2 separate regions of the Homo sapiens genome follow, and region 2 is linked to region 1. The links are contacts of gene promoters, found by promoter capture Hi-C in blood cells and fetal thymus (Javierre and others, 2016). All regions are on one chromosome and are shown on one strand. Each heading gives the region's core, a stretch centred on a gene start or on the middle of the fragment in contact. The rest is flanking DNA. Distances are from core to core; before and after follow the strand shown. Region 1 holds the start of ANKRD39 (ankyrin repeat domain 39). Region 2 holds the start of FAM178B (family with sequence similarity 178 member B).

Region 1 (6,874 bases), core at 4,137-6,636:
CCCTCCAAGCTGTGCTGTGGTTCTGGCTCTGGCCTCTTCCCTGACCATGCCCCTGTGACCAGACCTCCCAGGCTGTGAGATGTTTATGATGCCCTCACCATGGTGGTTTTCCTTCCAGCCCCCATTTCCGTGACTGTTTCCCTGAAGTGCTTGCATTATACCCTTGTGCAATACTCTTTTTGGTTTTTTTTTGAGATGGAGTCTCACTCTGTCACCCAGGCTAGAGTGCAGTGACGCGATCTCAGCTCACTGCAACCTCCACCTCCCAGGTTGAAGCTATTCTTATGCCTCAGCCTCCTGAGTAGCTGGGATTACAGGTGCCTGCCACTATGCCCAGCTAAAGGTTTTTTGTTTTTGTTTTTGTTTTCTTTGAGATGGAGTCTCACTCTGTCGCCCAGGCTGGAGTGCGGTGGCATGATCTCTGCTCACTGCAACCTCCACCTCCCGGGTTCAAGCAATTCTGCCTCGGCCTCCCAAGTAACTGGGACTACAGGCACGTGCCACCATGCCCAGCTAATTTTTTTTTTTTTTTTTTTTTTTGAGATGGAGTCTCGCTCTGTCACCCAGGCTGGAGTGCAGTGGCGCAATCTCGGCTCACTGCAAGCTCTGCCTCCCAGGTTCACACCATTCTCCTGCCTCAGCCTTCCATGTAGCTGGGACTACAGGCTCCCATCACCACGCCTGGCTAATTTTTTGTATTTTTAGTAGAGACGGGGTTTCACCGTGTTAGCCAGGATGGTCTCGATCTCCTGACCTTGCGATCCGCCCGACTCAGCCTCCCAAAGTGCTGGGATTACAGGCGTGAGCCACTGCGCCTGGCCAGCCGGCTAATTTTTGTATTTTTAGTAGAGACAAGGTTTTACCATGTTGGCCAGGCTGGTCTTGAACTCCTAACCTCAAGTGATTTGCCCACCTCAGCCTCCCAAAGTGCTGGGATTCCAGGCATGACCTGCTGTTCCTAGTTGCCTTGTGCAATACTCTTGTGGCATGTTTGCTACACCTCCTGAACTTTGATTTGTTTGCCTTTTACCAGCTATTATGACTCAAAATTGTCCCCTAGAACATGGAATAATGGCAGAAAGAAAGTGTGTGGTTGAATAAACACACAGATTGGCATCCACCGTTGAAACAGGAAAACATCTTATGTTATGCTGCTGCTGTTGTGAGGGCTGATGGGCCTTGAAATGTATTTCCTGCACTATGTGTGTGTGAGTGTGTGTGATTATACTTTTTGGCCTCACAGCCCCATCATCCCTTTCTAATAACGTCACGTCGATAAGGGGCTTAGGATTGCATCTGGCCTGTGTAAGCCCTCTGAGTTCTGCGGTTCTTAGAGTTCCCTTTTCAGCACTATAGCTCTGCCTTGTTCCCTTGTTCCTCCTTCTGGCGCCCCGTGCTGTGCCCCCTGCAGGAGTCCAAGCTGTCCCCATGCTGCGTTCTGGTCCGGCCGCCCCTCCCGTGGTGTGGCCCTGGCCGACCCCCCTCCTGCGCCCCGCTTTTCTCGCAGAAGCTGCTCTTTGCCGGCTCCCGCTCTCAGCTGGTGCAGCTGCCCGTGGCCGACTGCATGAAGTATCGCTCCTGTGCAGACTGTGTCCTCGCCCGGGACCCCTATTGCGCCTGGAGCGTCAACACCAGCCGCTGTGTGGCCGTGGGTGGCCACTCTGGGTGAGTTGGGCTCTACATAGGCCAGGACCTCCAGGGACTCAGGGTGGTTGGAGCCAGGCTGCTGATGTACCCTACATCCCCTACCAGATCTCTACTGATCCAGCATGTGATGACCTCGGACACTTCAGGCATCTGCAACCTCCGTGGCAGTAAGAAAGGTGAGCTTTTTCATTCCCGTCGCATCGGGCTGAGCCCTGGACCAGAGCTGGAGTTTCTGTTCTCCTCTTCCCCAGCCCTGCTTTCCTGCACTAACATGCACTCTGTTTTCTCTGCCACTACAGTCAGGCCCACTCCCAAAAACATCACGGTGGTGGCGGGCACAGACCTGGTGCTGCCCTGCCACCTCTCCTCCAACTTGGCCCATGCCCGCTGGACCTTTGGGGGCCGGGACCTGCCTGCGGAACAGCCCGGGTCCTTCCTCTACGATGCCCGGCTCCAGGCCCTGGTTGTGATGGCTGCCCAGCCCCGCCATGCCGGGGCCTACCACTGCTTTTCAGAGGAGCAGGGGGCGCGGCTGGCTGCTGAAGGCTACCTTGTGGCTGTCGTGGCAGGCCCGTCGGTGACCTTGGAGGCCCGGGCCCCCCTGGAAAACCTGGGGCTGGTGTGGCTGGCGGTGGTGGCCCTGGGGGCTGTGTGCCTGGTGCTGCTGCTGCTGGTGCTGTCATTGCGCCGGCGGCTGCGGGAAGAGCTGGAGAAAGGGGCCAAGGCTACTGAGAGGACCTTGGTGTACCCCCTGGAGCTGCCCAAGGAGCCCACCAGTCCCCCCTTCCGGCCCTGTCCTGAACCAGATGAGAAACTTTGGGATCCTGTCGGTTACTACTATTCAGATGGCTCCCTTAAGATAGTACCTGGGCATGCCCGGTGCCAGCCCGGTGGGGGGCCCCCTTCGCCACCTCCAGGCATCCCAGGCCAGCCTCTGCCTTCTCCAACTCGGCTTCACCTGGGGGGTGGGCGGAACTCAAATGCCAATGGTTACGTGCGCTTACAACTAGGAGGGGAGGACCGGGGAGGGCTCGGGCACCCCCTGCCTGAGCTCGCGGATGAACTGAGACGCAAACTGCAGCAACGCCAGCCACTGCCCGACTCCAACCCCGAGGAGTCATCAGTATGAGGGGAACCCCCACCGCGTCGGCGGGAAGCGTGGGAGGTGTAGCTCCTACTTTTGCACAGGCACCAGCTACCTCAGGGACATGGCACGGGCACCTGCTCTGTCTGGGACAGATACTGCCCAGCACCCACCCGGCCATGAGGACCTGCTCTGCTCAGCACGGGCACTGCCACTTGGTGTGGCTCACCAGGGCACCAGCCTCGCAGAAGGCATCTTCCTCCTCTCTGTGAATCACAGACACGCGGGACCCCAGCCGCCAAAACTTTTCAAGGCAGAAGTTTCAAGATGTGTGTTTGTCTGTATTTGCACATGTGTTTGTGTGTGTGTGTATGTGTGTGTGCACGCGCGTGCGCGCTTGTGGCATAGCCTTCCTGTTTCTGTCAAGTCTTCCCTTGGCCTGGGTCCTCCTGGTGAGTCATTGGAGCTATGAAGGGGAAGGGGTCGTATCACTTTGTCTCTCCTACCCCCACTGCCCCGAGTGTCGGGCAGCGATGTACATATGGAGGTGGGGTGGACAGGGTGCTGTGCCCCTTCAGAGGGAGTGCAGGGCTTGGGGTGGGCCTAGTCCTGCTCCTAGGGCTGTGAATGTTTTCAGGGTGGGGGGAGGGAGATGGAGCCTCCTGTGTGTTTGGGGGGAAGGGTGGGTGGGGCCTCCCACTTGGCCCCGGGGTTCAGTGGTATTTTATACTTGCCTTCTTCCTGTACAGGGCTGGGAAAGGCTGTGTGAGGGGAGAGAAGGGAGAGGGTGGGCCTGCTGTGGACAATGGCATACTCTCTTCCAGCCCTAGGAGGAGGGCTCCTAACAGTGTAACTTATTGTGTCCCCGCGTATTTATTTGTTGTAAATATTTGAGTATTTTTATATTGACAAATAAAATGGAGAAAATGAAACGATTGCTCTGATGGGGCTAAGATGTTTGGGCTAAAGCCTTTCTGGGTACCAAGAGGGAAGGCTCTCTGGGTGGAGGGAGGCTGGACTGGGCCTCCCCCACAATCCCAGGGCAGCCACCACTTTTGTGGTCCCTGCCTGCCTGTGGGAGGGGACAGCCCAGCTCTAGTGTTTTCCCACAGTGGTGGCTGCGGGGCTGGGAACGAGACCATGGCCATAGCCCCTTGGGAGCCAGCCTTGGCTTCTGGCCAGAAGGAGAAGTCAGGGCACTGGGAGTCCAGGGGAGAAGCGGAGTGGTGGGGGGGGTGCCTTCCCAGAACTCAAGACGGGTAGTGGGAATGAGGGGCCAAAGGAGTGGAAGGTTGTGGAGATGAGATCATTGCTTGTGTGAGGATGGGGTTCTCAACCTGCTTAGGGGAGGAGAAACGACTTCCAGCCTTCTACCCACCAGGAATGCTAGGGTCTTCCGTGCCCCAACTAGCGGGGGAAGGAACTTACATCCAGTGTGCACCAGACCACTGTCCTGGAGAGGGACTGGCACAGAACCCAACCTGCATTCTGTCGTTCATGCACTCTTTCTAAGCCGATCAGGCGGTCTCCCCTGTACACTTGATCGTGGCTTGAGCAGGCAGCTGCCTGGGTTTTAACTGGGAATTGAGAAGGCTGGGGTCCGCTGAGGAGCACGCTGCGAAGGTGCGCGGTCCGCAGACGGCCTCCCGGTGGGTTTTGATCATGAAGACCGATTCCGTAAACTCAGCGCCCACTGTGGGGCCAGGGGGTTCTGCACAAACCAAGGCCCTGCCCCTGCCCTGAGGTGGAGCTACAGGCAGGACAAGTTGTGGCCACCTGCCCCTTGCTGGACTTGTAAGGAAGAGCAGGGTACGGGGAGGGGCGTCTCGAGGCCTTTCCAGCCGTCACTTTGCCGCTGCCCCGGGGGCGGTCGGCCTTGGTCCGGGGTGGTGCCAGGAAGAGGGGCTAAAAACCGTGGAGCGCGCCCCGGCCCGATGGCTCACGCCTGTAATCCCAGCACTTTGGGAGGCCAAGGTGAGCGGATCACGAGGTCAAGAGATCGAGACCATCCTGGCGAAACCCCGTCTCTACTAAAAAATACAAAAAATTAGCCGGGCGTGGTGGCGGGCGCCTGTAGTCCCAGCTACTCAGGAGTCTGACGCAGGAGAATCGCTTGAACCCGGGAGGCGGAGGTTGCAGTGAGCCGAGATCGCGCCACTGCACACAAGTCTGGGTGACAGCGAGACTCCGTCTCAAAAAAAAAAAAAAAAAAAAAAAAGACCGCGGAGCGCGTGGCGCCTCCCTGCCCTAGGGACTAGGGGCGGTAAAGAGAGGAGGCTGCGAGGTCGCTGGACGGCTGGGTCATGGCGAAGGTAACGGGAAAGCTCCCGACCGGACCCAGCTGCCTCATCCCCACACCCTGCAAGGCCAGGCGGCCCGGCGGCCCTCCAGCGGCGCGCGGCTCCCGGAACCCAGCGCCTCAGTCCTCGCTTGGCCTTGGACGCCCTCGCGCGGAGGCCTCGGGGCACGGCCGGGCGCAACAAGCCCCGCCCTACCGTTGCAATTGGTTCTCGAGCTAAGGCCTAGGCGTTTGATTGGTCAGCTTTGGCGAGAAGGCGGGACTAGGGCGACAGCCGCGGACGCCGAGCGGCCAGATCAGGGACGCGGGGCGGGCCCTGCGTCCGCCCCTCCCGCCGAGGCTGAGCCTGAGACCCGGGGCGGATCGACTGACGCCGGGGCCGGGATGGCGACGCCTCGGCCCTGCGCGGACGGGCCCTGCTGCTCGCATCCCAGCGCGGTGCTCGGCGTACAGCAGACGCTGGAGGAGATGGACTTCGAGAGGGGTGAGGCTGCCGCGCGGCCCTCGTGGTTCTCACCAGGCCCCGGCCCAAGGAGGAGGCGTGGGGCCAAGGAGAGGCGGATGAACGGGGCCCCGAGAGCTTGGGGCTTGGGGCTTGGGGCCTGGTGCGGGAAGGCGGGCGGGACCCACGGTTCCCGTGTACTGAGAGCCTCCCAGGGCCCCGCACGAGCTCGGCCAGGAGACACCTGTCCCGCGGGCGGCGGGGAAGCGGAAGCACTGGTTTCCGTAACCCTCCCGAGTAGCGGGGGACGACCTCCCCTGGGAGACACAAGCCTGCTCAGGTGTTTGAGAGAGGGCCCGGGGAGCAGAATCTGCACCAGGGGCATTGCACCCAACCTGAGGGGCATGGAGCTGCAGGCCTGGGGGCTGCGCGGTGAAGGAGAGCAGTGGCCTTTGTTTAGCCCCGGGTGCCAGGCAGCCTGCATGCTTTAAAGATGGCAAGAGCTTCGCACGGGCAGCCTTCGAGGCAGGGCACAGTATCTCATCTGTGGGACCCAGAGAGGTAACACGTTTGGCCCAGATTATACAGAGATTATGGTGCCAATAGGAACAGAGGAAGGCGGGAAACCAGGGTGCTTCTTGTGAGCGTTGGGAACCACTGTGCTGTGTCATCTGCCCTTGCGGATGCAGCCCTCGATTGCCACTGCTGTGTAAGCATTCTCATGGAACTCTTCCTTTACCGTGGTTCTGGCACCTGCCTACTTCCCTCCGCCCCTCCTACCGCTGTCCTCTGCACTGCTGAAGTGGTTGCCTCAGAGGGTCTTTCTGCTTCCACGCTTGCCTTCCTACAGGGTTTTCTACTCTCACATAGCAGCCAGAGCGGCTTTTTGAAAATTAGAAATCACATCATTCCCTGTTATGGCCTACAAAGCTCTGTAGACCCACCCCTGCCGGTTCTACTTCTCCTCCTCATTTTATTTCTCATGCTTTTCTTCCCCCAATCACTACGCCGCAGCCACACTGGTCTTGTTTTGGTGTCTCAAATATGCAAGACCTTTTCCTGAGTTAAGGCCGTTGGACTTGCTGTCCCATCTCCTTAGAATGAACTTCCTACAACCGTTAAGCTAGCTGATGCTTTTCTTCAGATCCCAGCTCCAATGTCATCTCCTCAGAGACCCTCCCTAAACACCCCAGTTCTCAACTGGGGGCAGTTCTGCCCTTTAAGGGACTTTGAATATCTGGAGACATTTTGGGTTGTCACAATCAGGAGGGTGCTACAGGCGTGTAGTAGGTAGAGATGAGAGATGCTGTATACATGGTACAATGCACAGGACAGCTCGCTACAATAATCATCCGGCCCGTAAGTGTCAATTGTGCTGTTAAGAAGTAAACATTGCCTTATC
Region 2 (6,874 bases), core at 2,865-5,364, 130 kb before region 1:
GGCTCCCATCCCAGAAACTATGGCTCCTGAGCTAGTGCCTGCACACACACAAACTGAAAGGGAGTGGGCAACTGAACAGGGATAATACCAAGACCCTAATGATGGTGGACCCAAAATTCAAATTTTTTTTTTTGAGATGGAGTCTTGCTCTGTCGCCCAAGCTGGAATGCAGTGGCACGATCTCGGCTCACTTTAAGCTCCGCCTCCCGGGTTCACGCCATTCTCCTGCCTCAGACTCCCAAGTAGCTGGGACTACAGGCGCCCGCCACCACGCCTGGCTAATTTTTTTGTATTTTTAGTAGAGACAGGGTTTCACCGTGTTAGCCAGGATGGTCTCGATCTCGTGACCTCGTGATCTGCCCACCTCAGCCTCCCAAAGTGCTGGGATTACAGGCGTGAGCCACCGTGCCCGGCCCCAAAATTCAAAAATTTTAATACCTCAAGGTCATCAATGCAAATTAATCAAAGGGGGTTACAGACACCTAGGAAGGGGCTCTCTAACGCTTTGGTCACATGAACCCTTAAGGGAACAGGCTTAGCTACTACTGTAAAAGCACACACTACAGCGAGACCACTTTACTCTATCAATAACCCAGAAAGGAAAATAAGGCCACTTCCATTACTGATGCCAGTACAGAGGAGAGGAAGGTACCCAGGGGAAGACAGACAGTTAGACTTTCCCTAAGTTCCACCAGTATAAAGATTTAAGCACTTACTGATCTCTACAGATACTTTCATGGGATAGATTGAAGCCTACTCCACCAAAACAGAAAAGGCACAAGTGCCTCTTAAAAGAAATCATTCCCCGATTTGGGCTACCTATGTCACTCCAAAGCGACAATGGCCCCTCCTTTGTTTCCAAAATAACCCAGCAAGTGCTACCACTCTAGGAGTAAGTGATCATTTACATGCTTCCTGGAGACCTCCATCCTCAGGAAAGCTAGAAAAAGCTACTTGTAAAGAAAACTCTGGCGAAGCTCTGGCAAGAGACTTCTGAGTCCTTATTAAAGTGATTGCCTCTAGCGTTCCTCCAAGTAAGAGCGGCTCCCAAGACCAATCTGCAACCCAGCACCTTTGAAATATTATATGGTCCTTTTGAGTCTTCACAGGGGTGCCTTGTAAAGGCATTAGAAAAATATACCAATGTAGATGCTGTCTCTGAGGCAGGTCAAATTCTTCTGGGGACTCATTTTATTAGTCAATCTGCTCCAGATATTAAGAGAAAGTTACAAAAACTGGCTGTAAGTCCCCAGGCACCAATGAATGAGCTAATTAATGTAGCCTTTGAAGTCTTCTATAATGAGACAGAGTAGAAGAGGCTAAAAAGTGAAAGAGGGAAGAGGCAAGAGACATAAACCAGGCCTCCGATTATTGGCCCTTGCTATCAGAGAGAACAAGCCAGTCCAGACCAAGCCCCAATCTGGGGACACCTGCTACACTTAAAACCAGGACACTGGCCCCAAAACTGCCAGACCAAGGGACAAAATGCCCAAAAGTCCGCTCCACCTAGACCATATCCACAATGCAGAGATGCCAGTCACCGGAAGCAGGACTGCCCCCAACTCCGTAGGGAGACAGGGGCTTCCAATTCCTTGATGGCCCTGACTAAAGACTGAGGAGACCCAAGGCTAACACTGGCTGTCATTCAGTCCCCATTACCACAGAGGAATCCAGTGACCCTGCACGTGGCAGGTGTAGCTAATTTTCTATTACATACAGGGACCAGCCTGTCAGTCCTTACATTCTGCCGTCGACCCTAGTAGGCCAAATAGGCCAAACACTGCACTGCCACGGGAATTGATGAAAAACCCGGACCAGATACTTTACCCAACCTTTTTACCTTTTTTTTTTTTTTTTTTTGAGATGGAATCTCACTCTGTTGCCCAGGCTGGAGTGCAGTGGCACCATCTCGGCTCACTGCAAGCTCCGCCTCCTGGGTTCATGCCATTCTCCTGCCTCAGCCTCCTGAGTAGCTGGGACTACAGGCGCCCACCACCACGCCCGGCTAATTTTTTGTATTTTTAGTAGAGACGGGGTTTCATCATGTTGGCCAGGATGGTCTTGATCTCCTGACCTCGTGATCCGCCTGCCTCGGCCTCCCAAAGTGCTGGGATTACAGGCGTGAGCCACCGTGCCCAGCCACCCAACCTTTAATTTGCAGACTCAAGGACGTGAATGCCTAACTCCCTTGTTGCTACCCTCGTTGGGGGCTTCTTTAAAACCAATGAAACCAACTGAACCCCTTCTCATAGGAGCACTCTCAAAAGCCCAGCTGACCACCATAACACACCATAGTCCAGAGAATCCAGGACATTGCCAGCTGGGTGCATCTCTCTAGGATAAAAACTGTTTCCCTTACGTTTCCACAGGACTCTACATCAACAACTAAAAATTAAAAATCCTTTTGTAAGCCTATAGAAGACCTAACATTCATTTTCAAGAAAAGATGCCAACACCCCAAATAAAGAGATTAATATTACTTTAACATAAGGTAGTCCCATCTCAGGTCTCCTATTTGTAGGAGCTCTTTTTGTTCTTCTGCTTGCTGAATAATGATGTGATGCTTCATTCTGCTACCTTTCATGGGACCTACAATAGCCATCTTATTACTACTGACCTTTGGTCCTTGCTTGTTTAAGCTCCTTTAAAGTCTGTGTCTTCTAGGTTACAACAATTCCTAGATTGATAGTTATGCAAGGATTTCAACTTATCCCAGTGGAGGATATGACCCCTATCACTTTAAATCAGGCAAGAAGAGACTTTCGGGCCCTGGTCCTGTCTCAGCACGAAGCAGCTCCAGAAAAAATGACCCAGCCCTCCACATTTCATAAGAACATGGACCCAAAGTCTCTGAGGGGGAAAATGAGGTCGGTTAGATACAGTGGTCATAGCCTCCTTTAAAGGGGAATGAACTTGCCAGATTGATGTAGAGAACAAACCGCCCACTGGTGCATAAACTGCATCAGGCTCCTAGTTAGAACATCCTGCAGCGAAGAGGATGAACAGCAGAAGGGAAAATCCCCAAATTCACACAAGTGCAGAAACCCATGATTAGAGTGTCCTTGGAATGACCTATGCTCATTTTAATGCTAAAAAACACACCCCTGGGTGAGGAATTAAAATGCTAATGAGACATGTGATGTGGTGTACTAGCACGCACATGCACATCTGGGAGACCCCGTAACATGCTTAACAGTAATGCCCATTCCCGCTCCTTTATGAATAATTATGTAAATCTCCCATAAAGGGAAGCTCATCACTGCCAAACAGACACAGCTATCTCACACGTGTGTGTGTGTGTGTGTGTGTGTTAGAGATGGGGGCTTGCTCTTTCGCCAGGCTGGAGTACAGTGCCACGATCTCGGCTCACTGCAACCTCTGCCTACGCCTCCCAGGCTCAAGTGATCCTCTCACCTCAGCCTCTGAAGTAGTTGGGGCTACAGGCACTGCACCACTATGCCCGGCTTTTTTTTTTTTTTTTTTTTTTTTTTTTTTTTTTTTTTTTTTTTTTTTTTGAGACGGCGTCTTGCTCTGCTGCCCAGGCTGGAGTGCGGTGGCGCGATCTCGGCTCATTGCAACCTCCACCTCCCTGGTTCAAGCAATTCCCCTGCCTCAGCCTCCCGCGCAACTGGGATTACAGGCGCACGCCAGCCACCAAGCCCGGTTAATGTTTTTTAATTTTTAGTAGAGACAGGGCTTCACCATGTTGGCCAGACTGGTCTGGAACTCCTGACCTCAGGCAATTCGCCCGCCTCGGCCTCCCAAAGTGCTGGGATTACAGGCGTGAGCCACCGCGCCCTGCCCACGCCAGGCTAATTTTTGTATTTTTAGTAGAGACGGGGTTTCGCCATGTCGCCCAGGCAGGTCTCTCACTCCTGGGCTCAAGCAATCGTCCCGTCTCAGCCTCCCAAAGTGCTGGGATTATAGGCATGAGACACCGCGCCAGGCCACTGTCTCACTGTCTTGGTAAATGCAAGCTACTACAAGTGCGCGTGACCCAGGACTGCCTGGGGGCAGGAGCTTCCGCCAGCCAATTCCCGCGCACGTGGATGCGCACGTGGAGGGCGAGCAGGAAGAGGGCGCGCACGTGGAGGGCTAACAGGAAGAGGGTGCGCACTTGGCCGGCGAGCTCCCCAGCTGGCGGCGGCGGCGGCTGTGAGCTGGCCGCTTGGTTTGGAGTCGGAACTCAATCCCCAGAACTGGATCTTTAGGTTCCACGTTGGCGGCCCTGGATCTAGGGACGCAACTCTTGGGGTCCTCCCACTGCGCCGCCTGGGGAGCCTGCTCCTGCTTCCTTTCCCGGCTAGCTGGCCCCGTCCTCTGAGGCCGTGCGAATTCCCGCCACCCTCCCTCACCCCGGAGCCCTGCCCTTCCCGCCCTATGTGGCCAAGGCTTCCAGGTGCGGGCCTCGCTCCACAACTCAGGAGGCAGGATCAGCGGCTCCATTTTACAGGTAAGGAAACTGAGGCCGAGGAACCGCAGGGGCGCGTGGTTAGCGCTCAGAGAGCACTCGACTTCCCTGGGACTCCTGGCTGGTCCAGGCCTTGCAGGTCAGCCCCGGTGCGGCCGCCGGGCTACTCTGGCGCTTTTCAGGTTCCTGCGACCCCGCGTGGTTCGGGTTCCGACGTGAGCCGGGCCCTCCTCTCCACAGGCCACTGCGCGGCCGGCCTTGGTGGGGTGGAACCTTAGATTGGTTTGAGAACTGGTTTATGTTTTGGTTGATGTGGCATGTTTTGTTTTGATTTTTAATGTTCCCCAGGGTGCAAAGGGTAGCTGGTGTTTTCTTTCCAGAAAGGCTTTCTATTCCCAGCCCCTGCCCGGTTTGATGGATGTGGAGTTTATGATGCTGGAGACCGTTTTCTTTGTGGGTAGAACGCATCTCCTTTCATCTTTCAAATTGTGAGCTCAGTCCTTGCTGACAGGAGCCGCTGCTCTCGCCAGCATTCCCAAGCTATTAAATATTTGTTTAAAAGGATGGATATAAAACATGATGTTAGGAATAAGGCGTCTTGAAAAAGCAGTATTCGCAGAAACAGCACCATTGTAATATTCTGAATTCATCTTGGCTCTTTTGACATCAGGGCCCAAAGCACTTGGGATTCCGTAATTATTTGGCCTCATGCTACACTTTAAGACAGATTATTTTATTTTTCTTGTAGTCAGGAAAGTAAAAGAACAAAAAAACTGAGATGACATGTTGAAATCTCACTGCGAGGACGCGAGGGAGGATGAGGGAAGCGGGGAGGGCGGCTGAACGCTAAAGGCTGGGGCTGGGGTTTGCAGGATTCGGGGAGACAAGAGCCCAGGCAGAGGGATGTGCTGGGCAGAGGGGGCGCCATCCATGGGCTGCATTGTAGAGTGAGCATGGCCAAGTCAAGGAGCTGAACAAGACGACTTCAGTCCTGAACCTGGAAAGAATGTGAGATGGAGGAGAAACAGGTCCTGGCTGGCGGGTATTGGGCCCCAGGAGGGAAAGAGATAACAAAGTTAAGTTTGGAGACTAACGCTGTCTCCTGTTTGACTGGGGGGCCTTCATATCCCCTCCCACGCTGTCAGGACACGTACTGTAGGCACTGGAGCAGGTCACACCAACTAGAATGATCGGTTTCCATCCATTCCGGGATGCATTTTTGTTCACATTTTAGCAGCTCTGAAGTTGGGCTGGGTCCCACAGTTTGTGTCTTTCTTTGTGTCATCGTTCACTTGGCAGCTTTTTGTCGGTCTTAGTGGCACAGAAAGTCACAGTGCCTTAAACCCAGCAGCATCTTAGCTGTGATGAAGGAGTCAGCCATGGCCTGAGTCCAGTAACTGCAGGATCCAGAGTTGGAGACGCAGGCAGAGAAGATGACCCACCTCAGCCTGCACCCTTTTGTTGTTTATGTCTTTGTCTTTGAAAGTGCTTGTTTCAAGGCATGTGAGGGAGGGGATTGGCAAAAGCAAAAACCTGGAAACAACAGATAGACAAATGAAAAATGTGTTACTTTGTGGTTGGGAGAGGGAAGAAACAGCTGGTAGCTGCATCTCCCTTCCAGGTAAAATTGGAATGCCATATAATCACTGGTAGATAGCACCTTTGAGTGAAAGGCATTTTGCAGCAGCTAGAGTCAGCTGCCCACTGAGCAGGCAGCCCTGGCCCAAGAGCCTCATAAGCAGCCAGCCAGTCTGAATACGCTGATTGGGCCAGTGAGCCCCAGGCTTCATCATCTGCTTGAGTCTTGGTGAGCCCTGGGTCTGTCCTATGACAGAAACTTCCTGCTGCTGTAAGCTCCTCTAGGGCAGAGACTGCATCTTCCTCATCCTTGAGGTCCCAATGCTCAGCATACTGCCTGACACATAGAAGATGCTAAATTGGGGTTTGTTGAGCGGGAACTGTATTGAACAGGTTGGGCAAATTGTCTTCCTGGTGGCGGAGTGAAAGTTTTTATGTACCACTTTGGCAGGGCACAGTGGCTCACACCCGTAATCCCAGCACTTTGGGAGGCTGAAGCGGCAGATCACAAGGTCAGGAGATCGAGACCAGCCTGGCCAACATGGTGAAACCCCATCACTACTAAAAATTAGCTGGGTGTGGTGGCACCTACCTGTAATCTCAGCTTCTCAGGAGGCTGAGGCAGGAGAATCGCTTGAACCCGGGAGGCGGAGGTTGCAGTGAACCGAGATTGTGCCATTACACTCCAGCCTGGGCAATAAGCGAAACTGTCTTGGAAAAAAAAATTCATAGCAGATTTATTCATAATACCTTGAAACAAGAAATAACTCAAATGCTCATCAACAGCGGAATGGATAAATAAGTAGTAGTTATTCATATGATGAAATATTGTATAGTAATAAAGATTACTGAACTGCTGCATGAACTACTGCTACAGGCATATAG

The links. Contacts are between HindIII fragments. The CHiCAGO score rates a contact against its expected background, and 5 or more counts as called.
Region 2: the fragment with the promoter of FAM178B here is called in contact with the fragment with the promoter of ANKRD39 in region 1 in 5 of 17 cell types (non-activated CD4 T cells, naive CD8 T cells, erythroblasts and 2 more); the score reaches 10.4 in non-activated CD4 T cells.

Annotation. Positions count from the first base shown.
Region 1 is chr2:96,856,528-96,863,401 of GRCh38, reverse strand. ANKRD39 (ankyrin repeat domain 39) reads left to right here and starts at 5,386. Exons shown (of 4, transcript NM_016466.6): 1 at 5,386-5,514. The coding sequence starts at 5,415. It overlaps SEMA4C (semaphorin 4C), which reads left to right. Exons shown (of 15, transcript NM_017789.5): 13 at 1,508-1,665; 14 at 1,753-1,823; 15 at 1,947-3,684. The coding sequence ends at 2,776. RefSeq lists silencers at 4,856-5,525, 5,556-5,725. The HindIII fragment of the contact is 20,079 bases long and covers 1-6,874 here.
Region 2 is chr2:96,983,820-96,990,693 of GRCh38, reverse strand. FAM178B (family with sequence similarity 178 member B) reads left to right here and starts at 4,114. Exons shown (of 17, transcript NM_001122646.3): 1 at 4,114-4,453. The coding sequence starts at 4,381. RefSeq lists enhancers at 4,036-4,556, 4,557-5,077. The HindIII fragment of the contact is 31,542 bases long and covers 1-6,874 here.